Regions from separate parts of the Homo sapiens genome. Here region 1 is linked to region 2. Evidence: promoter capture Hi-C in 16 types of primary human blood cells and fetal thymus (Javierre and others, 2016). All regions are on one chromosome and are shown on one strand. Each heading gives the region's core, a stretch centred on a gene start or on the middle of the fragment in contact. The rest is flanking DNA. Distances are from core to core; before and after follow the strand shown. Region 1 holds the start of CDK12 (cyclin dependent kinase 12). Region 2 holds the start of IKZF3 (IKAROS family zinc finger 3).

What was found. The method cuts DNA at HindIII sites, captures the fragments that hold promoters and counts their contacts. A CHiCAGO score of 5 or more calls a contact.
Region 1: the fragment with the promoter of CDK12 here is called in contact with the fragment with the promoter of IKZF3 in region 2 in 1 of 17 cell types (total CD8 T cells); the score reaches 5.5 in total CD8 T cells.

What each region holds. Positions count from the first base shown.
Region 1 is chr17:39,457,699-39,463,820 of GRCh38, reverse strand. CDK12 (cyclin dependent kinase 12) reads right to left here and starts at 2,335. Exons shown (of 14, transcript NM_016507.4): 1 at 704-2,335. The coding sequence starts at 1,749. RefSeq lists enhancers at 1,554-1,683, 709-1,908, 2,074-2,133, 2,224-2,273, 1,634-2,558. The HindIII fragment of the contact is 2,058 bases long and covers 464-2,521 here.
Region 2 is chr17:39,861,261-39,867,624 of GRCh38, reverse strand. IKZF3 (IKAROS family zinc finger 3) reads left to right here and starts at 3,313. Exons shown (of 8, transcript NM_012481.5): 1 at 3,313-3,505. The coding sequence starts at 3,499. RefSeq lists enhancers at 64-143, 2,555-2,614, 2,675-2,744, 3,472-3,561, 3,572-3,691 and 2 more and a silencer at 154-369. The HindIII fragment of the contact is 8,560 bases long and covers 1-5,434 here.

The DNA.
Region 1 (6,122 bases), core at 1,086-3,585, 400 kb after region 2:
CATTATTACTATGTGTTTTAGAGAAAGATTTTGAAAATTGTCAGCGGTCACAAGGTAGGTCAGTGATGATGCTGTAAAGAAAACCAAATTGTCCTTGGAACCAATTTCTGCTAGGTTATACCATTAAAAGGGTAACAGACTAATCAGCTGAATTTCCACTAAAACATCAGTTAAAAGACAGGAATCTTTTGTAAATAATTAAAACAGTGCCAAGTAGGAAATGAATAAATGTACAGGTTTGGGGATTCAGTGGACAACACAAATAGGATAAACTAGGCAAGTAACTTCCATACCAATTTCTTAAGTCTTCAACCAGGTCCCATAGAGTCTAAAGCACAAATACCAATGTGATTTTTAAAAATATAAAACTAAGCAACAGAAATAGCTAGACATGCTCTGGGAACTAGTATCAACTCCATCCACTCACTAAGCAGAAGCCTTTGACGTTTCTCACTCAGAAGCTTACAACTGAAGACCCCACCACTGGAAGTACCTACCTTTGGCGGTTTGAGGCCTATGTACTCTTCACTTCTCGAATTCTGGGTTAAGGGGAGACAGATTCACACACTGGAATGACTAGCCAACAGCAAAGTGTTCTAGTCAATGATGAACACTGCGGGCTTCCAGACAATGTTAACACGCTGAATGCCAATTCCTCGCAACCCACCCTAAATGAGGAAGGACTGTTAGACAAATAGCTCACCTGGGGAGTGGACTCCGACTCAGAGACCGCTTGCTCAGGAAAGGGCTGCTGGACCGCCTTCGACCATAGGGACTGGGCGATCGCCCGCTGTAAGAGCCACTTCTTTCGTAGCTGGACGACCGTCTCCTGCTATAGGGACTGACAGATCTCTGTCGCCTACTGTAGGGGCTCGGTGACCGGGTGCTGGACTGGTAGGCCGAAGGCTCCTTGTAAGGGGGACTGACCGACTGCCTTCTCGAGGTACTTCCAGGACTTTTCTTGTAGGAGTCATAATTGCTCGAGGTATGAGATCGTGAGGGACTAAGGTCATAATCTTGGCCATAAGAAGCTCCCGAGGGGCTATCATCTTGTTTGGAGCTGTCAGACCACTTCCTGTGGGGGCTCCTGGATCTCCGTTTTGGGCTGTCCACTGTTTTGTAACTTTTGGGTGTTTCCCTTTTTCGATGACTTTTACTCCGGTCTTTGTGCCCAGACTTCAGCTCCCGTTCTTTCCTGGTCTTCTCCTTGTGGAGCTTGGATGACCTGGATTCCTTGCTGCTGCTTTTGGCTACCTGCGCCTTCCCATAGTCATCAGTCTCCTCATTCGAACGCTTTGAACTTCCCGATATCCGGTCCTTCATCGATCCCGACTTGCTGGAGACTTCTTGGCTTTTTTCTTTTTCGGTCTGTTTAGCTTTTAGTAAGTCCCGGGAACGCCTGTGCTGGTGGTGACGATGTTTGTGCAGGCGGTCGCTCCGATCTGATCCACGACGTTCGTCGTTCTCCCTTCGGTCTAGTTTGAAGGCCATGTCATCGGAGAAGGTGTCGGAATCAGAGCTGATATCATCATACTCCACCAAAGGTTTGATAACTGTGCCCAGGGATGCTGCTTCGGGGGTCACCAACCCCATGTCTTTGGAGTGTTTGGACTTATGCCGCTTGTGCTTCGATACCAAGCGGTGACGCTCTCTGCTGTTAGAGCTGCCGCCTCCCGATGACGGCTGCAAAGTTCCAGAAGCTCCTCCACTCCCGTCCTTCTTGCCCCCATGTCTCTCTGAATTGGGCATTCCCTTTCCCCTGACCTGAAGAAGGGAAAAAAGTTCCCCAGCACTCCAAAAAGCAACCCCCACCCACCCCCCCAACCCCAACTCCACGCCCACCAAAGCGCCCCGGGAAGGGGGTGGGGAGGGCAGGGACGGTAGCCCAGGCTCCTCCTCCCTCCCGACGCCTCAGCACCCTTCTACATGAGGTGGGGGGTGAAGGAGCGAGGGAAGAAATGAGAGTTCCTCGGCAGTGGAGTTGCGAGACAACGGGGAGCTGCTCAAGTCTGTTTCCTCTTCTCCCTCCGCCGAGCCAGTCCTCAGGCCCGGGCGCCGGGGAGGTCCAGGAAGTGAGAAGCCGACGGCCCGGGGCTGTGGAGCCGACTCCAGCTCTGGGGCCCTGCGAGGACTACGCGGGCCCTTCCCCTACCCGGTAGCCCGGTTCAGGACGGCTTCCTGTCGCCGGGGTGCCGCGGCCTAGGTGCCTCACGCCCCCTTTGTCCCTCGCTCCTGAGGTAGCCCCCTTTCTTGCCTCCGTTTCACCTCCACACCACACACACTCTCTCCCTCACACAGACCCAGTCACACACTAGATTAAACCGAAACGGCACTTGGGGAAGGGGGGAGGGGCAATCCCAGAAATCGTCGCGAGAGTCCAGTAGCCTCTCGCGATGTTTCGTGCTTCGCTTTCACCTCATTCCCCTGCTTATCAAACAACGCGAGATCAGGTCCCAAACTAGAAACGCGTTTCACCTGAGTCTCGCGATGAGCTCCCGGAGCTCCCCGTTTGAGCAAAGCTTTATTGAAACGGAACAAACCGAGTTTTTTTTTTTTAACCAAAACTTTATCGGTAACTGATTAAACAAACACTCCCAGGCTCCGTGACAAAATAATTTCAACATCCTTTTTAACAAATCTTTTAACTACCAGGATGACTTTTTTTTGTTTGTTTTTTGTTTTCCTTTGAGACGGAGTCTCGCTCTGTAGCCCATCCTGGAGTGTTAGTGGCGCGATCTCGGCTCACTGCAACCTCCACCTCCTGGGTTCAAGCGATTCTCCTGCCTCAGCCTCCCGAGTAGCTGGGATTACAGGCGCCCGCCACCACGCCCGGCTAACTTTTTTGTTTTTAGTAGAGACAGGGTTTCACCATGTTGGCCAGGCTGGTCTCGACCTCCTGACCTCAAGTGATCCTCCCGCCTCGGCCTCCCAAAGTGCTAGGATTACAGGCGTGAACCGCCGCGCCGGGCCATTTTTTTGTTTGTTTGAGACAAGTTCTCTCTCTTTTGCCCAGACTGGAGTGCAGTGGCACGATCTCGGCTCACTGCAGCCTCCACCTCCTGGGCTCAAGCAATCCTCCCACCTCATCCTGCCGAGTACTTGGAACTATAGAGTCGCGCCACCACGCCGTGCTAATTTGTTTCTATTATTCGTAGTGATGGGGTTTCGCCATGTTGCCCAGGCTAGTCTCGAACTCCTAGACTCAAGCAATCCGCGATCCTTGGTCTTGAACTCCTAGAATGAAGCAATCTGCCCGTCTGGTCCTCCCAAAGTGGCGGGATTACAGGCTTGAGCCACCGCGCCCGGTTGAGATTATTTTTTACAGAGCAAAAGACAAATGTCGGGACATTTCAACCCAAGTCCCTGAGTGTTTTAACAGTGCTTCCCACATATAGGGTGTGTGCTACCTGCCAAGAATTTTACATACATTATCTCTAATTTTCACAATTATCCTGCAAAACACGAGATTTTCATCCCTGTTTTATAGAAAAGGAATCCCAGCCTCAGGGAAGTTGAATAATTTGGTCCAACAAGTGCCACAGTCAACATTCAAATTCATGTCTTTCTGAGACTAAAACACAAGCTCTTCCATCCTATGGTGTTGTCTCCTTACCAATCTTTGCTTCAAATCTCAGAACCTAAAAGCTCATCCCATCTTGAGATCCTCCCATGGCCGTTATTGGATAATTTAGCCTTTCATCCTCATACAAAAGATTATAATATGAACAAGAAAAGCATAGTATTAATTAACAAGAAAATAACACTATCTTACACTGGCCCCTCATTTATTACTTTTTAAAAAACTTTCGCCTACCTTAAGTCATTCCATCTTCACAACAGTCCTCTGAAATAGGTTGTATAAGTGAGAAAACTAAGGCATGGAGAAATGAAGGGGCTTGTCCAAAACGGAGAAGTTCAGCTGGTAAATTCAGGACCAGAAAACATTCTGAATTAAGGTAGTCTCAATTCTCAAAAATCACTCTCTGTAAATGTTCTTGTTCCTTTTGCTCACAGGGCGATCCAAAACATTTTTTTTTTTTAACCTAATTTTGTGTGTGTGTGTGAAGGGTCTCGCTCTGTCGCCCAGGCTGGAGTGCAGTGGCACAATCATAACTCACTGTAGCCTTCCCCTCATGGGCTCAGGTGATCCTCCCATCTCAGCCTCCTGAGTAGCTGAGACTACAGCCACAGGCCACCAGCCCAGCTAATTTTTATTTTTATTTTTTTGTAGAGATGGAGGGCTGGCTATGTTGCCGAGTCTGACCTCAGATGCCTGGGCTCAAGCATTCCATCCACTTTGGCCCCCAAAGTGTTAGGATTACAGGCGTGAGCCACCACGCCCGCCGTCTCTAAATGATTGAGTCCATAAATATTGGTTCTAAAATAAAAAGATCAGGCCAGGCACAGTGGCTCACTCCTGTAATCCCAGCACTTTGGGAGGCCAAGGTGGGCAGATCACAAGGTCAAGAGATGGAGACGATCCTGGCCAACATGGGGAAACCCCGTCTCTACTAAAAACACAAAAATTAGCTGGGCTTGGTGGCACACACCTGCAGTCCCAGCTACTCGTGAGGCTGAGGCAGAGGTTGAACCCTGGAGGCAGAGGTTGCAGCGAGCCGAGATCGCGCCACTGCACTCCAGCCTGGCAACAGAGCAAGACTCCGTCTCAAAATAAATAAGTAAATAATAAAAAAATTTAAAAAATAAAAAGACCAAGTTTTCCACGACAACTTTTTGATCTTCTATGGAAGTAAAATTAATGCTATCAAGAAAAAAGAAGTGGCTGGGAGCAGTGGCTCATGCCTGTAATCCCAGCACTTTGGGAGGCCAAGAGGGGAGGATCATTTGAGGTCAGGAGTAAGACCAGCCTGGCCAATGCAGTGAAACCCTGTTTCTACTAAAAATACAAAAATAGGCCGGGCGCAGTGGCTCACTCCTGTAACCCCAGCACTTTGGGAGCCGAGGCGGGCAGATCAGGAGGTCAGGAGATCGAGACCATCCTGGCTAACACGGTGAAACCCCGTCTCTACTAAAAATACAAAAAAATTAGCTGGGCGTGGTGGCGGGTGCCTGTAGTCGCAGCTACTCAGGAGGCTGAAGCAGGAGAATGGTGTGAACCCGGGAGGCAGAGATTGCAGTGAGGGGAGATCACGCTACTGGGAGGCAGAGATTGCAGTGAGGGGAGATCACGCTACTGCACTCCAGCCTGGGCAACAGAGCAAGACTCTGCCTCAAAAAAAAAAAAAATTAGAGGCCAAGCACTGTGGCTCATGCCTGTAATCCCAGCACTTTGGGAGGCCGAAGTGGGAGGACCACTTGAGGTCAGCAGTTCAAGACCAGCCTGGCCAACACAGTGAAATCCTATCTCTACTAAAAATACAAAAATTAGTCAGGCGTGGTGGTGATCGCCTGTAATCACAGATATTCAGGAGGTTGAGACAGGAGAATCGCTTGAACCCAGAACGCAGAAGTTGCAGTGAGCCAAGATCGTGCCACTGCGCTCCAGCCTGGGTGACAGAGCAAGACTCTGTTTCAAAAACAAACAAACAAACAACAAAAAAATATATATATATTTATATATACACACACACAAAAATTAGCCAGGCATGGTGGCATATGCCTGTAATTCCAGCTACTCAGGAGGCTGAGGCATGAGAATCACTAGAACCTGGGAGGCAGAGGTTGCAGTGAGCTAAGATTGCACCACTGCATTCCAACCTGGGCAACAGAGTGAGAATCCATCTAAAAAAAAAAAAAAGTGGCTAACAAAAAGAAAAAAGGGCTGAGTGTGGTGGCTGACATCTGTAAAACCAACAATTTGGAAGGCCAACATGGAAGGAATTCGTGAGCCCAGAAATTGGAGACCAGCCTGGGCAACATGTTGAGACATCTGTCTCTACAAAAAAATACAAGAAATGACAGGCCGAGCAAGGTGGCTCATGCCTGTAATCCCAGCAATTTGGGAGGCCGAGGCAGGCAAATTGCCTGAGTTCAGGAGTTTGAGACCAGCCTGGGCAACACGGTAAAACCCCATCTCTACTAAAATACAAAAGAAATTAGCCGCCGGGCTTGGTGGCTCACGCCTGTAATCCCAGCACTTTGGGAGGCTGAGGCGGGCGGAT
Region 2 (6,364 bases), core at 2,064-4,563:
TTCACTTCAAGTATGAGGCGATGTGAGAGACCTCCCCCAGTGCAAACGTATCTAGGTTGATGAAGTGACCTTGCTTTAAAAATGGGCCCAATTGTAAGGCCCATTGGCCTTTTCTGTAGGGATGGAGCCCGATTGGCCTTTTCTGTAGGGATGGATGACTAGTCAAGATCGGGGAGCTCCAAAGGGGATCATGCCCGCGTCTTTGATGGTTCCTTCTTGGCTACTAGTTTGGTGGCCCGAAAGGCCCTGTGTGTTGTCTGTTTCTTAGCAGCGGGACACCACTCTCAGTAGTGGTTTTGAGTAGGCTGGTTAGTAGAGAGAGCCCAAGGTTCAGACAGGGTGCAGAATGGTTATTTTGGGTGAGATCAAGAGTTTTCGGTTTTATTTCCTTTGAGCCGAGTCAGTACTTGGACTCTCTCATATGGTCCAGGAGCAAACTTTGTCAGTAATTTCATTTTTAGTCACTGTTAATTTTACCTATATAGCATAAGCCATGAAATGTGACTCAGTGAGTCAGATCCACCCATTTTCAGTTACCATGTCTGGATACATGGTCTGGTCTCAACTGTTCTCTTCTTAAGGTGATGATAATGAAGACAGATTTAGGCATTATCTTTGATTCCCTACAAGTTCTTCATTCCAGTTTTAGTCAAAGTACATTATATATCCACAGTGTGTTTTATTGACTTTTTGGTTACTGTAAGTAATTGATAGTTGTAAATCCTGTGTGATAAACTAAATCCTATGAGAGGAGACTTAACCAAATGAGTAATAGTTGTCAAAAGTACCCATCCACTCTTTTTATATAAACTTTTTATTTTAGAAGAGTTTTAGATTTGCAGAAAATTTGCAAAAACAGTACAGAGAGTTTTTACATACTCCCTCCCGATTTTCCCTATTATTGACATCTTACATTGGTATGGTACATTTCTTACAATTAATGAACGGATATTGATATATTACTATTAACTGAAGTCCAAACTTTATTCAGATTTCCTTAGTTTTTTACTCAATGTCCTCCCTACCTCGTTTGTTTTTTTGCTCCAGGATCTCATGCGGGATCCCACATTACCTATAGTCATCGTATCTCCTTAGATTCCCCTTGGCTGTGTCAGACTTTTCTTGTGTTTGAAGGTCTTGACCTGGCTTTAATTGGTGAGGTATTTTGTAGAATGCCTCTCTACTGGAATTTGGTGTCTTTCTCCATATTAGACTAGAATTATGGATTCTTAGGAGGAAGATTACAGAGATAAAATGACATTCTCATCACATCATATCAAGGGGACATACTATCAACATGCCTTATCACTTGATGTTAACCTTGGTCTGCTGGCTGAGGTACTGTTTGTCAGGTTTCTCCACTGTCAACTTATTCCCCTGCTTTCATACTATACTCTTCGGAAGGAAGTCACTTTGTGCACCCACACTTAAAGAGTGGGGATTTATGCTGCATCTCCTTGAAGGTGGAGTAGCTACATAAGTTATTTTACCAATTCACTTTTAATCCCCTTAGGTATCACTCTCGGGAGTCCGAAATACTCAGTATTGAACTATTTACAGAGTACTAACACGTTCCACTGTCAAATATACAGAAGAACATTGTAATGGAAAATCATAAAGTTTCCTTACAACTTTTTTTTTTTTTTTTTGAGACGAAGTCTCACTCTGTTGCCCAGGCTGGAGTTCAGTGGCAAGATCTCGGCTCACTGCAACCTCTGCCTGCTGGGTTCAAGCGATTCTCCTGCCTCAGCCTCCTGAGTAGCTAGGATTAGAGGCATGCGCCACCACGCCCAGCTAATTTTTGTATTTTTAGTAGAGACAGTATTTTGCCATGTTGGCCAGGCTGGTCTCGAACTCCTGACCTCGTGATCCACCTGCCTTGGCCTCCCAAAGTGCTGGGATTACAGGCGTGAGCCACTGCGCCTGGCCTACAACTTTTTCATAACCAAATAACTTTTCATCCTCATACCATCCCTGTGAAATTTTACAGTTCCTCTTCTGCTACTTTTGATGTGCTATTTTTGCTTTTAGAAACTAACAAACAACAAATTTCCCCTTTCAGTACTAAAATTAGACCTAGTGTTTAGAGTATTTCTCCAAAATTGACATCCTGCAGAACTCCCAACTCATACAGTTATAGAGATGCTACTGTGGTGCTTAAAGCCAGTGTAGTTTTTCACCCACTTGAATATATATACACACATCACATAGACTGCCTATACCAACGACATACTATTGTTTAAAGCTACAATTCATAAAATTACAGCATGTATACTTTAACTTGTAAGTGTGGGTTTCTTCTGATATGGACAGCTGATGCACAAACCCTCAGCCTTAAGTCTCAAATATATTTGTATGCACTAATATAATTTTCTAATAGCGGTGACAGTGGCCTTTTGAGACTCATTCGTATATTGTCCCACACGCTGGATATCTTTAGAAGGGCTCACCTGAACAATGTCCCTTAGACCTCAATGTGAAGAAAAGTTCTGCTTTGAAAAACAGTTTTGTGGTCACTTCCCCTTTCCTCTCTCTGCAGTCAAATGTGTGCTTTACCTCTGGACAGTAGGGAGGGTGTTGGGAGAAGATGTTGACTGATACATATCTGTATACTAACATCTTTAAGTTAATTTTACAATCTTACTGCCCCCACCTTCCACCCTTAGCTCTACTTTCTTTGCTTAATTTTCTGGTACATCATATATGTATTTTTGTAAGGTGTGTATTTAGAAGAAGGCAGGCTGGGAGAAAATAAACACACTCTATAAAACACTCCCTCTATTTATATAGAGTGGGTAGTATTGCGTGAGTGGTGGCAAATAAATCAAGCAGTTCCCAGAGGGAAAACAAAAGTGAGATAAATGCTTCCAAAAATTAAAAAGTTGAATTGATAGAAGTGCCAAAATCCTTTCCAACTGTCTGAAAACTTGGACCAAAAACTTTTACCATGTGAAATGAAAAAGTGAGGAAGGAAAAAAAAATACTTTGAAAGAAGGGGGTTCTCATTGATACTTTCCACGGCTGTTATCACTGAATCTAGACAAAAAGTTCCAGATCTTCCTCAATTTAAGATAAACGTCTTTGAACTTCAGCTTGCCAAGAAAGCAAGGCTGACCCCCGACCCTCCGTGTGATGTCACTTTTCTCATCCATTATCCTTCTAAAATAGACATTTTGAGACAATTTAGTGATGCGACATTTCCATCCTGTCGGGGTTCCTTGGGTTTGACATTCGAAAGGGGGCTGGAGGCGCGGAACCCGCGGCACTCCGCGGCCAGCGTCCTTTAAAGCCGCCGCCAGCCAGCGCCGCTGTAACCCCGCGCACCGGCAGGTCGCCGGCTCCTGCCCTTTTCAGTCTGCGCCGACGCGGCTGCCGGATCCCGGGGACTCCCCGCGCCGGGAATCTCCCGCCAGCTGCGCGCTGAGTCCAGGCGACGGCAGGAGCACGTGGAGAGGCCGAGTAGCCACAGCGGCAGCTCCAGCCCGGCCCGGCAGCGACATGGAAGGTGAGCCTCCAGCCCGCTTCTTTTCTCCGGGGTCTTTGAGAAACTTAACCTGTGCAAGCAGTAGAAAGAGTTTCTTCTGAATCTCAGTTTTGCTTCTATTTACTTCTTTTGTCAAAAGTAAATATGAGGTATTTCAGAGGACAAAGCGCGTCGGTTCTCTTAACGTCTCTCACTTGTCCTTCCCCCGCCCTTTGGAAAGTGATAACTTCTTCGCAATTTTATTTCTAAAGAGTTGTCAGACATGGGGGGTCTACCCTACATCTGCAGAGGAAGAGCACTTAAGGGGTGTCCCTGAAATGGCTGCAAATCTGGGGTGGAATAATCAACCCTTTTGGATATTTTTTCCTTCATGGCCTCAGTGTTTATTGGAATTAGACTAATCTGAGTAACTTGTTTTCTTCCAAGGGTAAATGGTGTCATATGGGAAAGGTACATTTTAAAGCGGTTGGCATTTGCAGTTCCCTTGGAACTCGATCTTCTAATGAGTCTTCTTTACCCAGCGCAAAAAATCAGGTTCACATTAGGAGTTTCATATGAATTAATTTTGAAAGTCGTAACACTATCCTTGCTTCTCAAACATTTTTCATTCTGTACTTCCTTGGGATACCTAAAATTTCACACTGCTACTGTAAACTCTTCAATGGTCTTTTCAACAAGTGTTTCTAAAACCTTGAAAATGGCAAATGCATCTCAACTCGGGGGGGGATGGTGGGATTAAGAAATTCAGAATTTCATTCTATTAAAAATGAGATATTGACACCTAACTAAAATGTTACTTTGATAAATATGAAGATCGTGGGTATTTTCTTCATAATAATGGAAGAATCTCTAATTAACAATGAACTGATCTTTGGCAGCTTTATTTCTAGAGTATATAAAGTTGTTAAAATATCAAAAACTTTATGCTTTTAATTTTTTTAATTAGGGCTTGAAAACTTTAAAAATTTTGCATTTTTAACATTTAAATAATGGTTTATTGAAGTGTAATTTTTAACAAAGGTTTTATTGGCCAATAACAAGGAAAAAAAGTTGGGCTGTTGTATACTATGGGAAAAATAATTTTTGAAAAGCTCATATGCTTTAATTATTACAAATGATTAATTTGTTTTTATGAAATTATAAATCAGTACTCCAACACTATTTTTCCTAGCCGTAACCATACCACGTATCAAGGATAATGTACAGAATCATGTAAATCCATAGAAACTGGAGTATTTCTCTATAAATGTTAATACTTCCAAATTCATTTATTTAATGTGCAATAAAGAAACTAAATAGCATATCTTAGGTTATTGGTGTACTAACACAGATGTTTAATAAGCCTGAAGACTCCCTTAAGAAGAAAAGAATGAAAACTTGTGTAGAATTTAATTTAGAGTGTGTAGACTATAAATGGAAAGAGAATGTAGATCAATAACTTTTTAAAGTTGTGTTTACATGATTAGATTAAATCTATAGGTCCATGGAGATAGATAGTATAGATTATGCTTAATGAAAAAACTTTAACATTTAAATTTTAAAAAGAGGTTAATTATATGAATTTGGCTATTTTAATGTCAGGTCCTTGCGTATAGAGTATTTGATGTGGTAAAATATCTGGTTCATTATAGCTACCCAAAATAGACTAATCTGGCCCATGTTTTTGATATTTAAAAAATTTTTATATCATCTTGTGGTTTTGATCTCAGTCTAGATTAGAGATTTGGTCTATAGTGTATACCTCTCTTGGCAATGTAAGAAAGTAGAATACTTCATGGAATACCTTTATTTTCTGCCCAATTTGGGGGTCACATTGATTCATAACAGTTTATTGTACAATGCAATACTGTATATCATTCCTTCAGCATATAAAGTCATTTAACAAATTCATTTATCTTTTAATTAATTTATTGAGACTTTCTATGTATGAAGATGTCAGATGAATAAGCTTTTGAAATAGAAATCTTGTAGAAATGAAGATTTAATGAATATACTAAAATCAGAAGCTATAACTTTTTAATTTTCTCACAATCTGTGACCTTAAATATTTTCTACCCAAAGACTGTTTATGAATCACTAAATTTTATTATTTGTACTATAACATCTCTTCTGTCTGTTATGGTCGGGAAATGAGGTGGTTCACAAACATGAATTTCACAGGTAATGGCAGACTTCTTATTTAATGTAAAACATTTTTATTTTTAACAATATTGAGTAAAGATTTTTCTAAGTATATTTATTACACAGCTCCCTGCTTTATAAGCAAGGTACATAAGAGATAAGTTTATCTCGGCAACTCTGAGTTACTGTTCTCACCATCAGATCATATATTATTCCATAATATATTCTCACAGGGGTTTTGAGCTGAATGCCCCTACACCAAACATACCTAGGATATTGTACAATTTTTGTCTCCTTCTTGATGTCAGCTTATATTTCTTACCACATAGATTTTGTGGTAGTAGGGTTTTGTTTCAGGTCCCTTTCCATGTTCTGGATGGCTGAGATTAACAGAGATAAAGCCTGTAGATGATGGAATCTGTTTGCCCTCCATTGTGAGCGTATGGAGGATGAAATGCGAAGGTTTTAAGAAACAAAAGCCACAGAAAGGCCGTGGCGTCCTGGTAGAACATAATTTTTCAAAATTCCTGTTTGTACTTCCTTTAATCCAGTATGCTATTTCATGCTTCCATGTCTTTGCTATTATGTTCACCCATTCTCTACTTGCTTATGCCTACTCATCTTTCAAGACTCTGCTCAGGCATCATCGCCATGAAGGCTCTCTGATGACCTTCTTCTGATGACCTCCTCCTAGTGCCTTCTGGTGATCACCCCTACCCAGTCTCTCATGTTCCTTCACCTCAGCTAAGGGCCTCTCCT